Linked DNA regions of Homo sapiens: regions 1, 3, 4, 5 and 6 are each linked to region 2. Evidence: promoter capture Hi-C in 16 types of primary human blood cells and fetal thymus (Javierre and others, 2016). All regions are on one chromosome and are shown on one strand. The core of a region is centred on a gene start or on the middle of the fragment in contact, and the rest is flanking DNA. Distances in the headings are between cores, read along the strand shown.

The links. The method cuts DNA at HindIII sites, captures the fragments that hold promoters and counts their contacts. A CHiCAGO score of 5 or more calls a contact.
Region 1: a fragment that was not itself captured here is called in contact with the fragment with the promoter of STRBP in region 2 in 7 of 17 cell types (naive B cells, total B cells, naive CD4 T cells and 4 more); the score reaches 10.4 in naive B cells.
Region 3: a fragment that was not itself captured here is called in contact with the fragment with the promoter of STRBP in region 2 in 2 of 17 cell types (naive B cells and total B cells); the score reaches 6.5 in naive B cells.
Region 4: a fragment that was not itself captured here is called in contact with the fragment with the promoter of STRBP in region 2 in 1 of 17 cell types (naive B cells); the score reaches 5.1 in naive B cells.
Region 5: a fragment that was not itself captured here is called in contact with the fragment with the promoter of STRBP in region 2 in 3 of 17 cell types (naive B cells, activated CD4 T cells and total B cells); the score reaches 6.9 in naive B cells.
Region 6: a contact is called between a fragment that was not itself captured here and the fragment with the promoter of STRBP in region 2, in 2 of 17 cell types (total B cells and naive B cells). The highest score is 6.6, in total B cells.

Annotation. Positions count from the first base shown.
Region 1 is chr9:123,078,661-123,082,246 of GRCh38, forward strand. All of the region lies in intron 19 of RABGAP1 (RAB GTPase activating protein 1), which reads left to right. Among named protein-coding and RNA genes, the nearest start is that of MIR600, 31 kb to the right of the region's middle. The HindIII fragment of the contact is 677 bases long and covers 1,391-2,067 here.
Region 2 is chr9:123,266,816-123,270,359 of GRCh38, forward strand. STRBP (spermatid perinuclear RNA binding protein) reads right to left here and starts at 1,771. Exons shown (of 19, transcript NM_018387.5): 1 at 1,621-1,771. RefSeq lists silencers at 1,497-1,546, 1,717-2,196 and an enhancer at 1,597-2,097. The HindIII fragment of the contact is 5,570 bases long and covers 1-3,042 here.
Region 3 is chr9:123,096,412-123,099,681 of GRCh38, forward strand. It overlaps RABGAP1 (RAB GTPase activating protein 1), which reads left to right. Exons shown (of 26, transcript NM_012197.4): 22 at 1,330-1,434; 23 at 2,304-2,387; 24 at 3,067-3,138. Among named protein-coding and RNA genes, the nearest start is that of MIR600, 14 kb to the right of the region's middle. The HindIII fragment of the contact is 750 bases long and covers 1,029-1,778 here.
Region 4 is chr9:123,035,642-123,039,355 of GRCh38, forward strand. All of the region lies in intron 13 of RABGAP1 (RAB GTPase activating protein 1), which reads left to right. It overlaps GPR21 (G protein-coupled receptor 21), which reads left to right. Exons shown (of 2, transcript NM_005294.3): 2 at 1-24. Among named protein-coding and RNA genes, the nearest start is that of GPR21, 3.8 kb to the left of the region's middle. The HindIII fragment of the contact is 1,057 bases long and covers 1,572-2,628 here.
Region 5 is chr9:123,061,454-123,065,017 of GRCh38, forward strand. All of the region lies in intron 13 of RABGAP1 (RAB GTPase activating protein 1), which reads left to right. It also overlaps the pseudogene LOC100422501. Among named protein-coding and RNA genes, the nearest start is that of GPR21, 30 kb to the left of the region's middle. The HindIII fragment of the contact is 1,062 bases long and covers 840-1,901 here.
Region 6 is chr9:123,128,532-123,131,947 of GRCh38, forward strand. The region is part of intron 17 of STRBP (spermatid perinuclear RNA binding protein); the gene reads right to left. Among named protein-coding and RNA genes, the nearest start is that of MIR600HG, 15 kb to the left of the region's middle. The HindIII fragment of the contact is 261 bases long and covers 1,834-2,094 here.

The DNA of each region.
Region 1 (3,586 bases), core at 479-2,978, 190 kb before region 2:
GATTTCTTTGCCTCCAAAATCCCCTTTCTCAGTGTCCCCATCTCAATTAGGGGTACCTGGTTGCTCAGGCCAAAAACCTTGCTGTCCTCTTGACTCCTCTCTTTCTCACACTCCACATCTATGCTCGTCGTCAGAATATATCCTGACTCTGATCACCGCCACCTTCATTATTAACATCCTAATCTAACCATCATCATCCTTTCCTGTTTCCACAGTGGCTCCCTCCCTGGCTCTTCTCTATCGCATGTCTCCTTTGCTGAAAACTCACGTTTCCACCATCCAGAGGCATCCTGCATTCAATTTTGCTCCTTTTCTTTCCAAATGTTTTTTATGCATTCTTAAATAATTGAGTTCATACAGTCAGTATCATTTTTCTTCCTGTTTCATGCAATTATACGGATTTTCCTCACTGAGATATTGTGTGTAAATAATCAGTTGTAAATGGTTATATAATTCCTCTGCTTGAATTTGCCTCACTGTGCTACAGTTTATTTAACTGTGCCCCCTTGTTTGTTTCTTTTTTAAATTTGTTTGCTTTTGTTGTTGTTGTTTGTTTTTTTGTTTTTTTGTTTTGTTTTGTTTTTTTTTTTTTTTTTTGAGACAGGGTCTCGCTTTGTCACCCAGGCCGGAGTGCAGTGGCGCAATCTCAGCTCACTGCAACCTCCGCCTCCCGGGTTCAAGTAATTCTCCTGTTTCAACCTCCCAAGTAACTGAGATTACAGGTGCACCACCATGCCCAGCCACTTTTTTGTATTTTTGGTAGAGACAGCGTTTCGCCATGTTGGCCAGGCTGGTCTCAACTTCCTGACCTCAAGTGGTCCACCCCCCTCAGCCTCCCAGAGTGCTGGGATTACAGGTGTGAGCCACCACACCCGGCCCGCCACTCTTGTTTAAATTTTTGTTGTTGTGATGTGAACGGTTTTATACATAAAGATTCATTGGATTTTAGAGTTTTTCCTTAAACTCTGATTCTTTCTCCTACTACGTTTCCCCCTTCTCCTTCCAATTCAGACACGCTGGCCTCCTTGCTGTTCTCAGACCTTTGCACTGGTCAGTCTCTCTGCTTGTAATGTTCTCCTGAATGTCTGCATGGCTTCACTGTCCCCTCATCCAGTCTTCGGCTCATATATCCACAGCTTCTCAAATTGCAGTATCTAAAGTAGCAGCTCCCCCAACCTTTATGCCATTACGTCCTTATCCTATCTTATTTTTCCCTACTGGAATGGAGGCTGTGCAGCAGAAGAGACAATCTCTTTGGCTTACTGCTGAATCCACAGTACCAGGAACAGGATCTCGCTTATAAATATCGATTGAATAAGTGAATGAATAAATACACTGTTGAGTGTCTACCATGTGTTTTACAAAGAAGAGTTAACATGGATTTGGGCAAAGCTTAATAGTTTCCAGCCAGAAGTTTTACCTTTTGGATTCCCATTAGCTTGAAACACTTTAATAATATATGGATCCTTTATTTCCATATATGGAAAGGTGGGGAAAGTCCAGATAGGAGGTATCTAATGTCTTTTTTTTTCTTGCCTATGCCTTCAATGAGTTAAGTCTGACAAGGCTGCCTTCAGTGTGTCTGCACAGCACATATATTTTGTGCTTAGATATATAATTCCTTCTAGACCTGGAGAACTTTGCATGTTTGGGGTACACTTTGGATGTTTCCCCCTATTTGCACATGATTTCAGGTGAGATAGTAGTTTTTCTTGAAATCGGCTCATAGCCTGAAAAGAGTACAGATTCACCAGAACATAAGAGAATGGGATTTTTCTGCCAGAAGGTGAGCTATGGTATGTACAGTTTAGTTAGTGATGATTTGTTGTCTTCTGGCAGCTATACTTAATACCAAAAAATTTTAAGAGAGATACACACAATAGTTGAACCTGTTATGGGCAAAGTGATAATTCAGTGGTAACTTGCCAGTTCAAAATTAGGAAGTCATTGGCAAGTGCATCCTGAGCCCTGCATTCTGTGGCTTGCGTGAGGTATGAGTACACATGAGGATCTGTGGTTTGAGTCCATTAGACCTCGAAAGGGCGGTTCATGATATGTGGTTCCAAAAGCTTGTTTGGAAACAAGCTTTTGAACTTTTTCATGTGGAATTTACAAAGGTAACTTTTGCTCTGCAACTCACTGAAATCTCTTTCCATTATTTTTTAAATGTTTGTAAATTGTGGCTTGGTTTACTCAGTTGTACAGTTGACCTTTGAACAACATGGTATGAACCGCATGGGTCCACTTATACGTGGATTTTTTTCAATAAAAGTTATACCAACTATGCCTCCTGTCTCCCCTTCTACCTCTGCCTCCTCCACTTCTGCCTCTGCTACCTTTGAGACAGAAAGACCAACCCCTCTTCCTCCTCCTCCTCAGCCTACCCATCATGAGGACAACCAGGATGAAGACCTTTATGATGATCCACTTCCACTTAGTGAATAGTAAATATATTTTCTCTTCCTTACGATTTTCTTAATATTTTCTCTAGCTTGTTATATTGTAGGAATTCAGTACATAATACCTATAATGTACAAAATATGTATTAATTGACTTTATGTTTTCATTATGGCTTCTGGTAAATAGTAAGCCATTAGTAAGTAAATTCTGGGGGAGTCAGAAGTTACACGTGGATTTTCAGGTGCGCAGGGCGTCAGTGCCCCTAACTCGTGTTGTTCAAGGGTTAACTGTACTTCCTGATAATCAAGGTGAGAATTGGAAATATTTTGCCTCACATGCCAGTCTAGGAAAAAGATAGCTACTTTTGTTGTCATTGTTGTGATATTTGGTCTTTTGAGAAGGGTCTTGCTCTGTCACCCTGGCTGGAATGTAGTGGCACAGTCATGGCTCACTGCAGCCTCAACCTCCCAGACTCAAACGATCCTCCCATGTCAGCCTCTCAAGTAGCTGCGAGTACAGGCATGCACCACCATTTCCTGGCTAATTTTTTTTTTTTATTTTGTGTAGAGACAAGGTCTCTTTGTGTTGCCCAGGCTGGTCTCGAACTCCTGGACTCAAGTGATCAACCCACCTCTCCCTCCCAAAGTGCTGGGATTACAGGTGTGCGCCACTGCGCCGACCATTGTTGTGTTTTAATATTATGATATTGTTGTAATTTGTAGTATTGATATAGTTCTTAAAAGCATCTTATTTCTTCCTCACAATACCCTGTGAGATACAATAGGGCACATCAAGTGACTTACCCAAGTCATACCAGCTGTATAGTGACAGACCACCCTAGTAGAACTGAGGCCTCTGACTCTTATGTTCCCAATGCTTTCCAACGCATTCCACTGTCTCTTACCATTGCAAAGGTTCAAGAATTAAATTTGGTGTGGCAGTATCTGAAATGGCCACAAGATGGGTGTGTTGCTCAAAAATGTCTATCTTCTTCTCGGTGCCCTTGGAAATTTTTTTTTTTTTCTTTATAAATCTTTGTCTGTCTCAGTCCTTACTTGCCTCTCTACTTTTGTCTTTTTCAGGCCTTTTACTTCTCCTATTCTCCCTCTTTCTCCTTAAAGTGAACTTATTATGGAACTGAAATGTTTTACTTATTTCTTGAGGAGTTTAGATCCCCTGCTCCTAA
Region 2 (3,544 bases), core at 521-3,020:
ATTCTTCTACATCCTCTACCCCAAAATAGCCTGTCTACCTTCCTTCTTTCTCCCTACCTCCCTTCTCCCTACAGCACAAAATTCAGTGCCCCAAACCTGTGCTTCCCTCCCTCCACCTACTGTACTCCAGACCTGTCCACCTTCCCCTCCAGTCTATCCCGTTGTCCCCCTCTACTGATTTCGTTCTCACCCTCCCCTCCACCTTCCTCCTCCCCAACCGCTCCACACTTCCCGCCTCAGAAATCTTTCCTTCCATTTGTCCCCACACTTTACCTGCCACTCCAAGAACACTTCCCTTTCCCCACCCCCTTTTGCCCTCCACCTCACACACTCCACGCCACCCCACACCTGTCCCTCTCCCCCAGCTCCTGCCCCTAACGTCCTCCAACACTTGCCAAGAACCCCTCACCCTCCGTCCTACCTCAAAATTCCCTCTCTTGCTGATCCCACCTTCTTCCATACTTCCTGCATAAACACCCTCCATTTCACGCACTTCTCCCGCTATCCTTTAAATGCCCCACACACCTCCTGCTCTCCATCCCCATCACCCTTCTCCTACTGTCCCCACCTCTCTCTGCAAGCCCTCAAACTAAGTCTCTGCCCCAATGAACTTCCCCCTTCCACCCCATACTCCTCTTCCCTGAGCACCAGATACCTGCCTTTTTATCCTTACATGTCAACCCCCTCCCGCCTCCCTGCAGGCTCCCCTATACACCTGGCCACACACTCCCTCACACCCCTCGCAGGTCTCCTGGAGCCCCTGGGCCTACCCTTCATTTCCCTATCACCCCAGAAGCCTAGGCACCCTGCTCCCCTCCCTCCCTTTCAGGCGCTCCCTGCCTGCCCTCACTTCCCCCTGCCCCGACCCCCTCCTCCATCGTTCCCCTTCACGGGCGTCCCGGTGGCCTTCCTAATACCCGCCCCACTCCCTGCCCCTGGCACGCAGCGCTCCTTCCAGTCCTGCTCGAGTCCCCAGTCTTCTCCCTCCATTCCCACCCCACTCGTCCCTGCCCTCCCCAAAAGCCCCCTCATTCCCTCTTGAACCCCACAATATAGTGCCCCCCCCCACCGGACGGAATGTCCTCCATCTCGCACTCGCCTGGCCCAGGGGGCCCCCCAAACCTGCCTGAAGGCTCTCCTCCTCCATTGGGCCGGATCCCTCTGCACCCCTATTTACCCCCAAATCTGCCCACACCTTCCGCCTGCCCCCCGAAGCCTCTCCCCAGCTCCTGCCCCCAATGTCCTCCAACACCTGCCCCGAGCCCCGAGCCCTCCGTCCCGGAAGACCTCCCGGCACCGCGTCCCCCAACCCTGCCCACGCCCTCCCCTGATCGGCCGGGACCCCGTCCCCGCGAAGGTGAGGAAGGCTGCCCGCTGCCCTTGCCCGAAGCGGCCGGGGCACCGCAGCGGCGGCGGCGGCGGCCACAATGCCGGAGCCGCGGGGCCGGGATTGCTCCCTGCTCTCCGCCTCGGCCGCCACCGCCGCCGCCGCTGCTAAGGACGCACAACAAACAATGCGGGGCCCGGGCCGGCTCCGCCAACCGCCTCAACCGCCGCCTTAACCGCCGCCCGCCCGGGACGGCCCGCCGCGCAGGCGCCCGCCCCGCCGCCGGAGCCTACCCGCGCCGCCGCGCTCTGCCCGCGCCCGGTACCCGCTCCCGCTCCGCCGCCGCCGCCACCTCGCCCGCTCGCGTCTCCGGCTCCTCTGCCCAGCGGCGGCGGCTGCGGCGGCTGCTGCCCTGGTGGCGCTCGCGGCTCCGGTCTCCGCTTCGGCGGCGGCAGCGGCGGCAGCGAGCACGTGACACCGTCGAGCGCGCCCATTGGCCAGGCCAGGGGGCGGGCCCCGCGGCTGCTGGGGAACGGAAAGCCCGCCCCCTCGTTCGCCGCGCGCCCCCTCCACGCGCGTCCTGCCGCACCTGAGAGCGCCGGCCAGCGCCCGCCGCCGCCTTGCTGTGCCGCCGCCTGCGCCAAGTGCGCACCTGGGAGCGCGCAGGGAGCACTCGCCGCCGGCGGCCTTATGCACCTGCCAGCGGACGCTTACGTAAACTGCGTCCCCGCCTTCCTCCCGGCCCCAGGCCCCCGCTCGCTGCAGCACCTGAGCCCCGCTGCGCTAGCGGCGTAACTGCGGCGGAGCGGAGACGAGCTGCGCTGGGAGGCTAGCGAAATGCACGGAAACTTCGTAACTTCCGAACCTGGGAGCTGCGCCGAGCCGCGGCGGCTAGCCGCCTTCCCCGGGCCCCGCACCCCAGTGCGGGATGCCCCCCAACCCCAGCAGCCACACAAATGGAGTAGGCGTCGCACTGCCTCCCGAGGTAGAGGGGCAGGCCAGTAGGCTTTGACTTGTGCCACCGCCCACCTACTTGCTGGCTGTGTGACCTTGGCCAAGTTACCAAGAACCGTTCTGAGCCTCAGTTTCCTCATCAGGAAAACTGGGACAATAATTCCAATTTAGGAGCTGTTGGGGAGATGGCATAAGACAATAGGTGTGAATCCTGGCACACAGCAGTCGCTGAACAGAAGCTGCTACAATCACCTCTCCTTCACCTGCCTATAATGAACCTCGCTGGGATTGAGTTTGGGCCCAGGACCTCTCTGACCTCCTTATGGTTGGGTCAGACTTTGGCTGAACACCTACCAGCTCTGTGCCAGGGGCGGCGCTGGGGAAGAATTAAAGGTTCGCTTTCTATTCTACAGTCCCTGGCCTCAAGTTCTTGGTGCCCAGCATTCTGCTTGCCAGTATACAGTCCCTGCTGTATACCGGGGGGTTTGCAGGCTGCAGGGATGCACTGGCAAATGAGACAATGTCTTTGCCCTAAGACAATTCCCAGCCTGGAGCAGAAACGACCTGACCACTCAGTGCCAAGACAGAGGACCTTGAACAGCCCAGGGGTTGAGGAGGGACTCCCCACAACAGCCCCCTTGGGGCCCCTTTTCATCTTTCTAACACACCAGGCTCAAATATTTTAACAGCTCTGTTTCATTCACAGAATAAAGTGTAAAAAACCCAATTTCAACTGAAAAGGCCTTGGTGATCTGGCCTTAAGCTTCAAGGTGCACGCCCTTCCCTTTGCCCCTCCTTCAGGCCAATGTGACCCTCCAGCCACACAGAACTACAGTACTGTTGTTTCCAGAGTATGCCCAGGTGTGTAGGAGCCTGAGTCTCCTGAGACAGATGCCAGGCCGCAAATCCCTTTCTAAACCCTCTCCCCACCTCTGACCACTCACACCTTCCTTGACCCTCCTGAAAAAAATCCTGGGTATCCTTATCAATCAGCTCAGAGTATATTCTCTGGAGATCCTTGGCTGCCTCAGACACATGGTCTAAGCTCCCTCGGCTTGAACATAGTCCTGTTAAGCTATATGTATTCTCATGGCACTAGATTGTAATTGTTTAGCTGTCTGTCTCCTCCCTGGTCTCTCAGTCCCTTGAGGACAGGGTCATCTTCCTGCCTAAGTGTGTTAGGGAAGACTACACGTGCACATGACATGAGATCATTAAAGCTGGGTTTTGTAGGATGCCCATAAGTATCAGAGGGAGAAGAGG
Region 3 (3,270 bases), core at 154-2,653, 170 kb before region 2:
GACAAAGGGTATTACCGAGGACAAAGGGTATTACCAAGGACAAAGAGGGACATTTCCTAATGATAAAAGAGTCACGCAATTTAATTGCGTGCATTTGCAGTTTGCCAGTAATTAATGGCCTTTTGAATCTGCGTATCATGCCATTCTCAGTTCCACCTTTTTTTCTCTCTCTTTTGAGACTGAGTCTCGCACTGTTGCCCAGGCTGGAGTGCAATGGTGCGATCTTGGCTCACTGCAACCTCAGCCTCCTGGGTTCAAGCTATTTTGCTGCCCTAGCCTCCCAGGTAGCTGGGATTACAGGCGCCTGCCACCACGCCCGGCTAATTTTTTGTATATTTTTAGTAGAAACAGGGTTTCACTATGTTGGCCAGGCTGTTCTCAAATTCCTCACCTTGTGATCTGCCCACCTTGGCCTCCCAAAGTGCTGGGATTACAGGCGTGAGCCACCGCACCTGGCCCAGTTCCCCATTTAAGGACCCAGCTCTCTGGAACCTGTTTCTTCCAAAGAAGATACAGGAAAGGAAATAGAGTATAGTGGAAAACTCAGTGGCCCAGTTACACTACTTTAGGTGATGTCAGAATTTCAGGGAAATCCTATCCATATCAGGAGCCCAGCAGAGACCCTCTGTATTTAGTCCTTGAGTCTTCTCTAATATGGTATAGTCAGTCCTTCTTCAGTTATCTTTGGAGTGCCCAGCACCAGGAACTCGTATGTCAGGCAAAAGTATATCATTTTCACTAGAACTCACAGATACGCCCACTAGACCTTTTGCATGCTTTAGAAAAAGACTGGAGTGGAGAGTGGCCATTAAAGATAAGAAAAAGTGCCAGGAAAGGGGCAGCCTCCTTTATCAGGTAATAACAAGAGAAAAATGCCAGACGGGTTGGATGAAGCAGAGGAAACACAGCTTGGAGGAAGAAAACCAGTTTATTAATAATAATGATGGCTACCTTTTATTGGTGTTTACTGTATTCCAGGCACTGTGCTGAATGCTTTTCTTGCCTTATCCCTCAGATGAAGAGCCGGAAGCTTAGAGAGGTTCTCAATGACTTGTCCAAGTGGCACATGGTCAGTGAACAATGGGCGATGAGTCCAGGCTGTCTGATGCCAAAGGCTAAGCTCCTAACTACTGCCCTGCACTACCTCTGAGCAAGAGACTGGGACAGGCACTTATGCATGAGTGTATTCTCATTGTGACCCTGGGGATATAATTTCCCCTCTCTGAATCAGAGTTTCCCCATCATCTTAAAATGGGATTATGCTAAGTAATGGAAATCCTTTGCAGTTCCCAATTCTTGTTTTGTGACAGCATATCTTAAATGTTTCAGGCTGAGGAAAAGGCAGATGCTCTGAATAAGGAGCTGCTGATGACCAAACAGAAGTTGATTGATGCAGAAGAAGAGAAAAGACGGCTGGAAGAAGAGTCTGCTCAGGTAAGGGAACTCTCCCACATTCCTCTGTCTTGCAAATGCTTGAGAACTGGGAGTTCAGCTGGTGGCTTCCTGTTGGCACTAGAAAACCTAGAGACATCTGGCTTCAGTTTCTTTCCAAAGACTTTTTTTTTCCCCCTACTGTGTAAAGTCCAATGGTTCCTAATTAAAGTCTAGGAGGAGACAGTGGGTTGAAGCCCATCCTTTGTTGGGGCAGGAGAATTTCTGTGTATCAGCATCTGAGCATAACAAAGAAGAGGGGGTAGAATTCCTGCAGAAGGAAAGCACACATCATATAATGCCTGGCTGTTTCCCTACTTGTCCTCTGCTGTCTCCCTCATAGAGCAAGCTTGGGAAGTCTTGTTCTGAGCCAGTGCTCCATAGTCATTGGAGACACAGACCTGCAGGCATGGGAAGAGCTCTGGGTGCTGTGCGCCTGGGAGCAGTCCCCTCCCCTGTCACACCACGGTCGTCCAGGAGGCAGGACTGGCTGGGGTGAGAGACTGCAAAGCCCTTTCTACAGAAACCATGAGATGCTGAAAACCCGCAGTCCTCTTATGAGCTCTTTGGTTTGTGTCTGGTCTGTCAGTGAAGGTCCACAGGTTGGCTTGTACTGGCAGGGAAGACCTTCAGCAGAAGCCTCAATCTGAAATGGGGTCTGACGTTTTTGGAAGTTTTAACTGTTCTCTCCCTCTCCTGCATCAGGAACAGGGGATTAGTGCTGCCAAGATTGAAGGAAGAAAGTAGCTGAATTAGAGGACTTCCAGGGTTTGGTTCAGCAGTTTTTGGGAAGCCTAGCACTAAGCGGTTGGTGGCAGAACTTCCTTTATTTTTCTGTTAACATAGTCCCTTTTGTTTTTTTATGTGTGCAGTTAAAAGAAATGTGCCGTCGGGAACTCGACAAGGCAGAATCTGAGATTAAAAAAAACAGTTCTATCATTGGTGACTATAAGCAGGTAGGTTCCAGTACCCTGGGATTGGGCTGTGTAATCTGGGAGCCCCTAGTCTGGATAAAATGTATACCCGCCCCCCACCCCCAAACCCAAATGCAAGCACCCTGGTTTCAGATCCTGGCTCTGCCCCTGCACTGACAAGTGGCTTCACTTATTCTCAGTTGTAAAAGAAGGAAAATCATCCCTGCCTAGGAAGGTTGTTACGAGGATTTAAAAAGACCATGTTTGTAGAGTGCCTGGCAGTGCCCAGCACATAGTAGGTACTTAAAACCACAGTATGTTTTGGTATGTATTTCAGATTCAGAATTACGAACTTTTGTTTACGTGTAGTTTTAAACCGGTTATTTCCCTGACTGGTTGAGTTTTAAGAACATAACAGAATGGTCTTGTTCCCTCCTACACTAGGATCTCTTGCTGGCTCATGAGTCTGGCAGGTGTTCAGAAACCATTGGCCATTGAGTGTGGTGCTGCTTGGTTTCTGCAAGTCCTAGGCCAGTGAATGCAGAGGCGGCATAGCTAGAAGAACCCCTGCTTATCCATCGACTTCATATCCCCTCCTGAGCGGTAGCAGGCTATTTGCTACTATGTTAATTCCAATTTACATATTCCAGCTTCCACTATGGAATTTATGCAGATGATTACAATTGCTCAAGAGATTGTTGTTTTATATTTGTTTCTTTAGATTTGTTCTCAGTTGAGTGAAAGATTGGAGAAGCAGCAGACAGCCAATAAGGTGGAAATTGAGAAAATTCGGGTAAGACTTCTCTTTACCTAAAAGATTTTATACCACCTACTTCATTTTATGGCTGTATAAACAGGTTTTGGGAGGAGGCAGTTGATTTCAAAAGTGAGAGAATCTAAGCAATAAGGCACCTGTCACAGGTCC
Region 4 (3,714 bases), core at 850-3,349, 230 kb before region 2:
GTGTGTGTGTGTGTGTGTGTGTGTGTGTGTGTGTGTGTGTGTATTTTATCTCTAAGTATTCCTAATTCACTAGGAAATCTGGGACAGAATACTTTGACTCTAAACAATAGCATACAAATTATTCGTATGGATACCTTCTAAGTTTGTAGAAATGGTTTTCAAAAGTGCTTGTGAATTAGAAGACTCAAGATCATGAAGACAAATTGCTCTTGCTCTCAATTTTTGAAATGTCTTGGAAATGACTACAGTTCTCAGATTTAAAATGAATAAAGCCATATCTAACACCTCTTTCCAGCTGGCATGACTGAACCTGAGTGTGAAAAGCGTCAGCATTTTAAAAAGTCATCACTTTCTTGTCACTTTCTGGGCTCTTTCCAGCTATTTGGGCTTCATATGCAATTGATTTCTTCTAACGGAATAGTAAAATATAAATGAAAAGGTTTTAGAAATTACTTTTTATGTATGCCAAAGCATAACTACACTGCAAGTTTCAACACTGTCATTTAGAAAGCCAAATGTTCTGTGTTTTATTCTCTTGAGAGAATTCTCAGTAGGGTGAATAATGTGAACACATAAACATTAATTTTAGAATTTTACAGTGAACCATGAAGCAAAAGTGCAATCAAATTATACAATTTATGAAAAACTGAGCTACTTTTTGTGCCATGCTTCACAGAGATCTAAAGATATGTGTGCGTAGAAGTAATCGTGTAGTACTTTTGCCCATGCCTTTGTGTTATGTCTATATTTAGAATATCTGAATTGTTAGATTTCTCTTTTACAGCAAAATGTGCTTAAGCTAAAAAGTAATTCAGTGATAGGCTGTTGGCTGTCCATTTTATAATGGTGACTATATACAAAAATGTGTCTTTAATATTGTCTGTTCTTTCTATTCAAAGACTTCTGAAATATTAGAACATCAGGGAGAAGGGTGTCGGTCATAAGCAACTGAGTCAGAAAGTATACCGTAGTATACAGATTGTTTTTTTAAAATACAAGGTAGTTGAGACATTTTCTTTGTGGTTAAATGGAATCAACTAGTTATTTTTGAAAAGTATTCTTTCAGTTAGTGCTAAGGAATCCACATTTGAAGAGGAGAAGGGAAAACACTTAAGTCTCTTATTGCTATTTTCTCTCTGGAAAAAAAATCCTTTGGCATACAGTTCTTAATGGTCTTTTTTTTTTTTCCTGCCAAAGTACTAGAAAAACCTATAGGATTTTATAATTCTTCTATAGAATTATTATTGAGAGTTATGTGTGTTTGTATGTAGTAGTGATGTTTGTTCTTAAAAGTGATTATCTTTAGAGCAAGAGGTTTATTTTTCTAAAAGGAGAGAAGGAATTCCGGCAGCTCCAGGCACGAGAGTATTTCCTCTACTTTTCTGCTGTTCTGGAAATGTTCTGGAAGTCTTCAAGGGACTTACTTGATCTCTGCCTTTGGCTAGAGGTTGTAATCTGAATGCGACAGTGGTGTTCAGTGAGATGGAAGATGGAAGAAACCCAGGGGACATGGGTTAAAGTGGATTTCTGAATCCAAGAAAGGACATGGATATTTATAAAGCAGGCAGATAAGCTTTGGTTTTCCATCATGATGCCAGTGTTCTTATGATTTTAGGCTTTAGACATCAACTTGATTTTAACCTCAGTTGTGTTCTATTTAAACTTTTTTATTTTAAGTGACTAAGCATTACATAAACATTCAAACTTCAGATTCTGGGTTTTTCCCAAAACCTTGCTTGCTCTTTATGTTTAGTGTTAGCAAATTTTATTCTAAGCTGCTTCAAAATTTAGAACTCATACTGAAATTGCAAGTTATGTTAGAAATGGCTTGGTTAAATTGCCATTTCAAATGGGAAACCTTTTCTGTTAGATTCTGAAAAATGGTTGTATTGTATACATTTTCCCTTTAAGTGGTACAGATCTAAAAAACCAAAATTTACCTTTTTTCATACATGTTAGAGAATGTAACCTGTTCACATTTGCAGTTTGCTTATGAATTTTTAGTTTAGAAAATATGGCAATTTTAAACACTTAATTTTTGTTGAAAAATTGATATTAAATCAGCAGGTTTGATCTTATTTTGTTGTGTGTGTATGTGTTGGGAGAGAGGAGATGCTCCTGGACACAGTAGTGTCCCCTTTAGTGGCTGGGGGTGTTTTCTGTGTGATATATTTGGAAAGTTCATGTTTAACTGAACTTTTCATCCTGGCATATTTAATGCAACATTTGATGACATTTAGTTTAAATACCAGTCTGACTTCAAAAAAAATGTATTTTTAGATTCAGTTACCATGGCGTTGGCGGGATAGCTCATTTAACTTTATATGGCATGTGACTGGTATCAGAGGAAACATATACTTTTGGTGATTATGTTGAAATTATTTCATAGTAAATTTTAAAGTAGGATTATACTGATGTTATATTTGTAAACTAGTTGTATTTTTTAATGCAGTGATTTCAGTGAAAGTGGTTTTTTCCCCCTTCTTAGAGTAGAAAAGCAATTACAAATGGACTAGTGTGCTCAACTTTAGTGAGAGCATTATCCTGACACTAGATTGGATATTTGCGTTTTTTTCACGGGCCTATTGACTCTTACTCAAAATTCCATTTTGGAAAAGGTTTTCTTTAAGCTTTATTGCTGGATAAATTCTTTTCAAGCCTTTTATAATGGCTTTTACTTTTTACTTGAATAATGGTCTCAGTATTTTAAGGATTGGGAAAACTTGAATTTTTTTTTACCGTAAATGCATTGCCCACCTCCTTGAACTTGAAAATGAAGCAGCAGGGTTAGACTCCCAGATGGCCCAGATGGTGGAGTGGTTTCTAGGAGGGTTTCCTCAGCTTTTCAGGTTTGTTTGAAAAATCTGCATGTTGACTTGGTATAGGAATTGTTTTAATTTCACTGAGTATGTTTTTGTTTCATAGTTGTTGGTGAAATTACCAGCAAGCCAAAATGTATTGTTACATGAGCAAATTTTGGGAAATTTAAGAATGGGAAAACTGTGGCATTGAGATTTTTTGAAGTCCTCATAAATCATTTTGTGTGTTGACTTTTGTGTAATTTTTTTCATTTCAGGTTGAAGAAAAAAATATTAAGTATTTATATTAAATTTATATATTATTAATATTATGTTGCAGACCTTGGAAATATTGTAGACATTTCTTATGGCTGTAAACGAGTCATTTGGCCTTTCTTCAAAATTTGCATGACAAAAGGGCATCATATAGTAAAAATGAAGTTGGAACTGAGAATAAAAAAATGTAGGCTTCTGTTTCTAATTAAGTAGTTTTGTAAATGAGGGCAAGTCACTTCTCTAAATGCTTAATTTCTCCTAGAAGGAAATATTGATCCCTTCATACCTCATAGGGTTAGTTTGGGGCTTGCGTTAGATAATAGATGTGAAAGTACTTTGTAAATTGTAAAGTGCTTTGCAAATAAAAATCATTACTGTTATTTGTATCTGCCATTCTTCTACATGTAAGGAAGCCATACATCATGATGTGTTCCCCCACACTTTGATCTTTGAAGCTCAATGCTACACCACTACTCTGTGCTACTTAGCAATCCCAGACTTGAGAAGAGAAGCAAAATAAATGCTCATCCTCCTAAAATGACAGTAGCCTTGAATTCAACATAAAATTGCTTTGATTTACTTCCTTCACTTGTCATCAAACTCTCTGAAGGCAAGGGACAGTGTCTCTTATCTGTCTGGT
Region 5 (3,564 bases), core at 121-2,620, 210 kb before region 2:
CAGTGCTTGTTTATTTACATATTGTCTATGGCTGCTCTACAAGGGAAGAGTTGAATAACTGCAGCACTGAATGGCTTGCAAAGCCAAAAATTTTTACCTGACCCTTTATAGAAGAAGTTTGCAAGATGGCAATAGTGCATAATCCTATTGCATTTTTGTTTTCTTCTGGAAATTAAGGGTGTTTTTCTTGGGATAAATGAATTAGCCAAAACACAAAACCAGTTGATCAAACAAAACAAAACAAAACAAAACAACCCACCTCTCTTATAACAGCAGTAATTTTCAGAACGTAACAACTGACAATACTTTTGCCATTCATTCCGTGTTCTTTTAAAGTCACCATCTGTGCACTGTTGCCGTAAGTACATTTATAAAAACTTGTCTGTTAAGCCATTATACTAACTACAGCCTCCTTAAGAGGATGTATTTGGTTGACTTGATCAGTTTGGCCACGAATAGTGTTACATGTGTTGCATTGGCAGGCTCTCTACATCAGTTACATTTATGTTTAACTCCTTAGAAATAAAAGGAATATGGCCGGGTGTGGTAGCTTACAGCTGTAATCCCAACACTTTGGGAGGTCAAGGCGTGCGCATCACCTGAGGTCAGTTGAAAACCAGCCTGACCAACGTGGAGAAAACCCGTCTCTACTAAAAATACAAAAATTAGCCAGGCGTGGTGGCACATGCCTGTAATCCCAGCTACTTGGGAGGCTGAGGCAGGAGAATCGCTTGAATCAGGGAGGCGGAGGTTGCGGTGAGCCAAGATTGCTCCATTGTACTCCAGCCTGGGCGACAAGAGCGAAACAAGAAAGAAAAGGAATATATATTGTTGTATAAAGCTTAATTTTGTAAGCACTTGCTTTGACTATTTTGAAAAGCTCTTTGCTTTTTTTCTCTTAGGGGATCATCCATAATGTTGCTGTGTTTTATTTTCAGAACCTTTTCAAATTTAATGTCATTCTGATAGGAACTTACTAAACTCATCATTATTAGAATTTCTGCATCACTTTTGCATGATGTGGCCTCCAGCAAGTCAAATGAATTTATTCCAAGTTCTTCAGCATATTTCCTTAAGGCCAAATATTTTAAGCAAATGATTCACATGGAACTCCTCAATTTATTATCATTCTTGAAGGCATCAAAAATTGAGTGTGAATTTTCAAAATGACCTTCTTTTAAGGGCATTTTGCCCCTTCATTCTCTGATAATTCCATGATTAATGGATATGGGATGGCAAATTGACAAGAACTGGCCCAGTTATAGAGAGTACTTTCAGTTTTTTGTTATTTTTTACGTCCTGTGTACAGTTGAATTTCTAAATCTCGTCTCCTCTCTCTCTCTTTTTTTTAATTGAGACAGGTCTCGCTGTGTCGCCCAGGCTGGAGTGCAGTGCCACGATGTTGGCTCACTATAGCCTCTGCTTCACTGGCTCAAGCGATTCTCATGCCTCAGCCTTCCAAGTAGCTGGGATTACAGGCACCTGCCACCATGCCTGGCTAATTTTTGTATTTGTAGTCAGAGACAGGGTTTCACCATGTTGCCAGGCTGGTCTCAAACTCCTGGCCTCAAGTGACCCACCTGTCTCAGCCTCTGAAAGTGCTGGGATTACAGGCATAAGCTACCATGCCCAGCCCAAATCTCATATCTCTAATAACTGTATCCTTTTTCAGGTTGTCATCTCCGTAATCAGTGTGATATGATTGATGTAACTGGTGTAAAATATTTTGAACGTTTCCATATTCCTCTCCATTCTCAATTTAATTTCCTAACCTTCGTAGTTGTCTTAAACCACAGTTTATCATTCTTAGCATTTTTTAGAGCTTCTGTTGTTGTTTTATAGAATTCCTAAATTCATCTGATTCTCTCTGGATTGTTTCCAGTTTTGGCTGTTAGGAATAAAGCTTCTGTAAACATTTGAGTTTAAGTCTTTTCATGCATTTATATGTTCAGTTCTCTTTGGTAAATACCTAGGAATGGAATCACTGGGTTGTATGGTAATTATGTGTTTACTATTGTAAGAAACCACCAAACTGTTTACAAAGTGTTTGTACCATTTTGCATTGTATAGGAGTTCCAGTTGTTTCTTATCCTTTGCCAACACTTCTTAATTTTAGCATTTTGTAGATATGTAGTGGAATCTCATTGTGGTTTTAATTTGCACTGCCCTGAGGGCTAGTAATGTTGACATCTTTTCAAGTGCTTATTTGCCATGTGTTATATCTTCCTTAATGAAACACCTCAATCATTTACACATTCCCACTTTAAAAAATTAATTGTCTTTCTCATTAATTTGGAGAGTTATATATTCTGGATACAACTCCAACTTTATTATCAGATATGTTTTGTAGGCATTGTGTCCTGGCCTGTGACTTACCTTTTCATATTTTAAACAGTTTTTTGAATAGTAAGATTTTTAAATTTTGATGAAGTGTCCAGCTTGTCGTTTATTTATAATTCATATCTCATAGCGACCCCTCTTCTAACTCTTCAGCTCTCTGTTCAGCATATTCCTCACTAGCACTCTACCCTACAATTCTAGCTACCTTGCCCGCCCCAAAATTTGTGTGCGTGCTCTCTCACTCGCTCTCACTCTCACTCTCGCTCACTTCGCTCGCTCTCTCATTTTCTCACTCTCGCTTGCTCTCCCTCTCTCTCCCACTTTCTCAACTTTTGAAGATACCTCCAACGCGGAGCTCTAATTCAGTCTGGAAGCTGCCACCATGTAATTAGCTGCTGTAGTCATAGATCTCCCTTGGATTTTTTCCTTTTGTTGAAGAGCACCACAGTCCTGAGCTGCCATTAACTGTTAAGACTATGTTAATAACTAGAAGTAACATATGCCACTAAAGCTCTTTGAAAAGCAATTTGGCGACATCCTTGAAGGTATAAATAGTTTACTGTTTAAGAAGGAGCATAGGCTTTAAAGTTAGTTCAGATCCCACAACTATAAAATATTCATGGCCTTCGGAACATGATTACCCAAAAGGCTAGAGAAATTATTGGACAAGAGAAGAACATCACTTGCATTTTTCATCTTAAAACAGAGGTATCATGTTCTTTGGTAGTATACTGATTATGATGTATTCTTACCAAGGGGAATCAACTCTATTGTCTTAGCTATGAAGACACTGCATTGTTAAAGTAGAAGGTCATATTTCTGTGTTCCAGTTCTTTACTGTGTCAGCAAATGAAATTTAACAAGGGGAGAATATTAGAAATAACTGGGTGCTTGGTGTATTTTACAAAGGTTTGTTGACATTATTGACATTTGTTCCGTTTTAGTTAACTCATTATAGAAGAGGAAACAGTTTTTGTCCATTGGAAAAAGCAAAGGATATTTTCCCATAGCCTGTTTGAATCCCTTGGCATTTGGTGGTCTTGTTCATACTGAGTAGATTGCTTTGTGCATTCTTATGCCATTTGCCTCTAGGACAAATCCCAATTAAGTAACTACTCTTTTCCATTTGAAAACTGGCATATGGGCTTCATTCCAAAGCATCAATTAAAGCAGCAGTTTTTCTACTGGGAGCACTTTACCTCCTCCTTTTGCGATTAGTTTGAG
Region 6 (3,416 bases), core at 714-3,213, 140 kb before region 2:
TATTAACTATCAGTTCCTTGTCTGGGTTCCCCACTAGAGTAGCATAGACCTGGTCAAACTTATCCGTCGTCGCATCATCTGAACCTAGCAGAATGTATGATATATATAGTAGCCACTCTCTAAATATAATTTGTTGAACAAAAGAATACTTAAAACCACTCAAACTACCAATCTCTCAAAGTTAGCAAACAGAACTTTCCAAGTATCTTCAGAAAGTAGTGAGAGAGCAGGCTGAGGTCTCAATGGCCATTAAAACAGGCACATGAGTCAGGTCGTGAGCCCAAGGGCAAGGTCTATGACTTGCTGATATTTCAATTTCTGGCCCAAGTACAGGGTCTCTCTGTAAATGCTGGTGAATTTGACATCAGCCTCTGGTACCTATGAAAAAGGCTCACATTATTAAGTAAAAGCAAGTACAAAGAAGTTTTTATACCATATTAGTAGGGATTAGAAATATTACCTATATTAACAGAAGCTGCAATCTTTTTACTCTTTTAGTAAAACAGCTTAGATATAGGTAATATGTAGATAAAAATTACTTGGGGCCAGGTGTGGTGGCTCATGCCTGTAATCCCAGCAATTTTGGAGGCTGTGGCAGGAGGACTGCTTGAACCCAGGAGTTAGAGACCAGCCTGGGCAATATAGTGAGACTCCATCTCTACAGAAAAACAAAAAATTAGCTGGGTATGGTGGTGCATGCCTGTAGTCCCAGCTCCTCAGGAGGCTGAGGTGGGAGGATCACTTGAGCCCAGGAGGTCGAGGCTGCAGTGAGCCATGATCACACCACTGCACTCCAGGCTGGGCAACAGAGAGAGATCATGTCTCAATAATAATAATAATAACAACAACTTATTCATTTATAAATGAAAAAAATTTCTAAAGTAGAACAAGGGCACAAAATCACCATGGCACTTTTACACAGTACCCAAAACAAATGGAGCTTTTTCACATTACCACTCCTTTTTTTGTAACCACTTCTGCTATTCAGAATGATTTCACTCCCTCCTTCTCTGGATGACCAACTGCAACTCACCCTTGAGAACAGGATCAATTATCACCTCCCCTACAAAGTCTCCCAGACTTGCTGTTCTCTCTTTTGCCCAACCCATGTTATACTTGCATCATATTGCATTGTGTTTATTCAATTATCTGGTCCTACCCCAGGCAGTCACTGGGGCAGAGGCTAGGTCTTCTCTGAATGCCAAGTTCTAAATCTCCTGTTTGAGACAACGCATTCAAATGTATGCTGAAGAAGTAAACTGCTTTTAGGGACCAACTGAAACAGTTCTGAGGGATGAACAATTTTTACTTTTTAGTCTATAGTTAAGTCATATAACTCAGTCTGAGTGCTCACTAAATCATATTCAAGAGGACACATGTAGCTGAAATAAGCAGTAGGAAGAGGAGACAGATCAGAGGCCAAAAAAGAAATTAATGCTTAAAAAAGGTTAGCTATCAAATTTATTCCAGAAAACAGAAGCTGTTTGGCTAAGGCTGCAGTTCTAAGGATTATACCAAAACCTCCTTAAGAAGAAATGAGACCACAAGTACTAACTAGGTCATTCATCAGGACACTGGAGTCCTGATTCTAACTTCACCTTTTCCTAGCAAGGTATCTGTGAATGGCACCTGTTATTTAACCTCTCTGAGCTTCAGTGTTCTATGTACAGTAACTGAGTTGCCAGGGGAATTTAATTAAATAATACATGTAAATATACTGACAACAGTCCCTGCTGCACAGAATATACTGTGCAAATGGTATATAACCTATTCATAATCTAAAGGGACCTAATCTGAATCTTGTCTCGGCCATAAAATAACTTCATTTTTAAAAGCTTCGGGACACAGGCCTTTCAGGGAGGTCAATGCAATGACACAAGAGAGGAGTCACTATAGAGTAAAGCCTGGCAACGAGTGGCCATAAACGGTTCCTTTCATGATTACTGCCACTGGACCATAGCCATTTACCACTCTAGCAGGTGGTAAATGGTCCGCGGCAACAAGAGACGTGACCAGATTAAGCCCCAATAGAACACATCATCAAAGACAAGAAAGATAGTTCATCTCTATAACCCGCCTATTATTGTGAATGAAAGCTTTGCCCTTTCAATAATACACTGAATAAGGCTAAAATTATTAAATATCAGTAGAAATAGTGAGACACACAGAAGACTGTCTTAATTTTAGACTCATAAACTATGTCACACCATAAGAAATTCATAACCTTTTCCTTTTCCCCCAATGCTCCAGCTAAAAACCCTAGGAGCTGAGATATCCTTGAAACATCACTCTTCTTTCTATATATTCAATACACCAATTTTGCTTCCTTTATATTCCTCCCATCTGTTCTCTTCTGGTCTCCCCCTTTCTTCTTCCCTGCCTCCAGTAGCAATACTATCAATGTCTCTTGCCTGGGTTAGTAGTCTTCAGTAGCCCTTTTTTAACTGAGGCATAATAGATGTACATAGTTCCGGGGTTCGTGTGATAATTTAATATACCCATGTAATTTATAAAGATCAAATCAGTGAACTTAGGATACCCATCATCTTAAATATTTGTCCTTTCTTTATGCTAGAACCATTTGAACTCTTCTAGCCAGTTTGAAATGTACAATACATTACTGTAAACTATATGCCTTCTAACTGATCTTGTCAATGCTCACACCTATCCCTACCTCCTGTTCTTCACACTATAGAAAGACTAACCTTCACAAATAAAGTCTGATCTTGTCACTATTCTCCTAAGAACCCATCAAGACTTAACACTGTGCTTAGGGTTCTAAGACCAAAATCCAAACAACGGCCTCCAGGTCTGGGACTGAGTCATCCAGCTTTAATTCACATCATTCCCCAGTCTCTCCACTTCTGCCACTCAGTGCTCACCACATTCCACACATTCTGGACTTCTGCTTCTTCAATTGAGCCAAATTCCCCAACAGCAACACAAGGTCTCTGCACATGCTGTTCCTTCTGTATGCAACACTCTCCCATCCCAGTCTTCTTTGAGTTAACTCCTATTCATTCTTCAAAGCCCAATTCAAATGTCCCTTCTTCTGGGAAGCCTCCAGGGACCCACTAAACTAGACCAGGTTTCTCTGTTACATGCTCTCACAGCAGCATGTCCTTCTTTTTCATCATACTCATCTCAGTTTCTCGTTGTTATTACTTGATTAATCTACGTCTCACCCTTCAGACTGTAAGCTGCATGAGAACAAAATCCATGTCTGCTGTGTGCCAAAGCAGGCACACTCCTTGAGCAATTTACCTACTAGGATTATCTTCTAGAAGAATCATTCCAAAGCCACATCATAAAATTTCCCAAATGGCCTAGTCTTATTCTTTCTTAGAGGAAAGCACAAAGTGAACCCTTAGGGATGTTACCTAAAAAACAATGACTGGATAAGACCCAATCTTCAT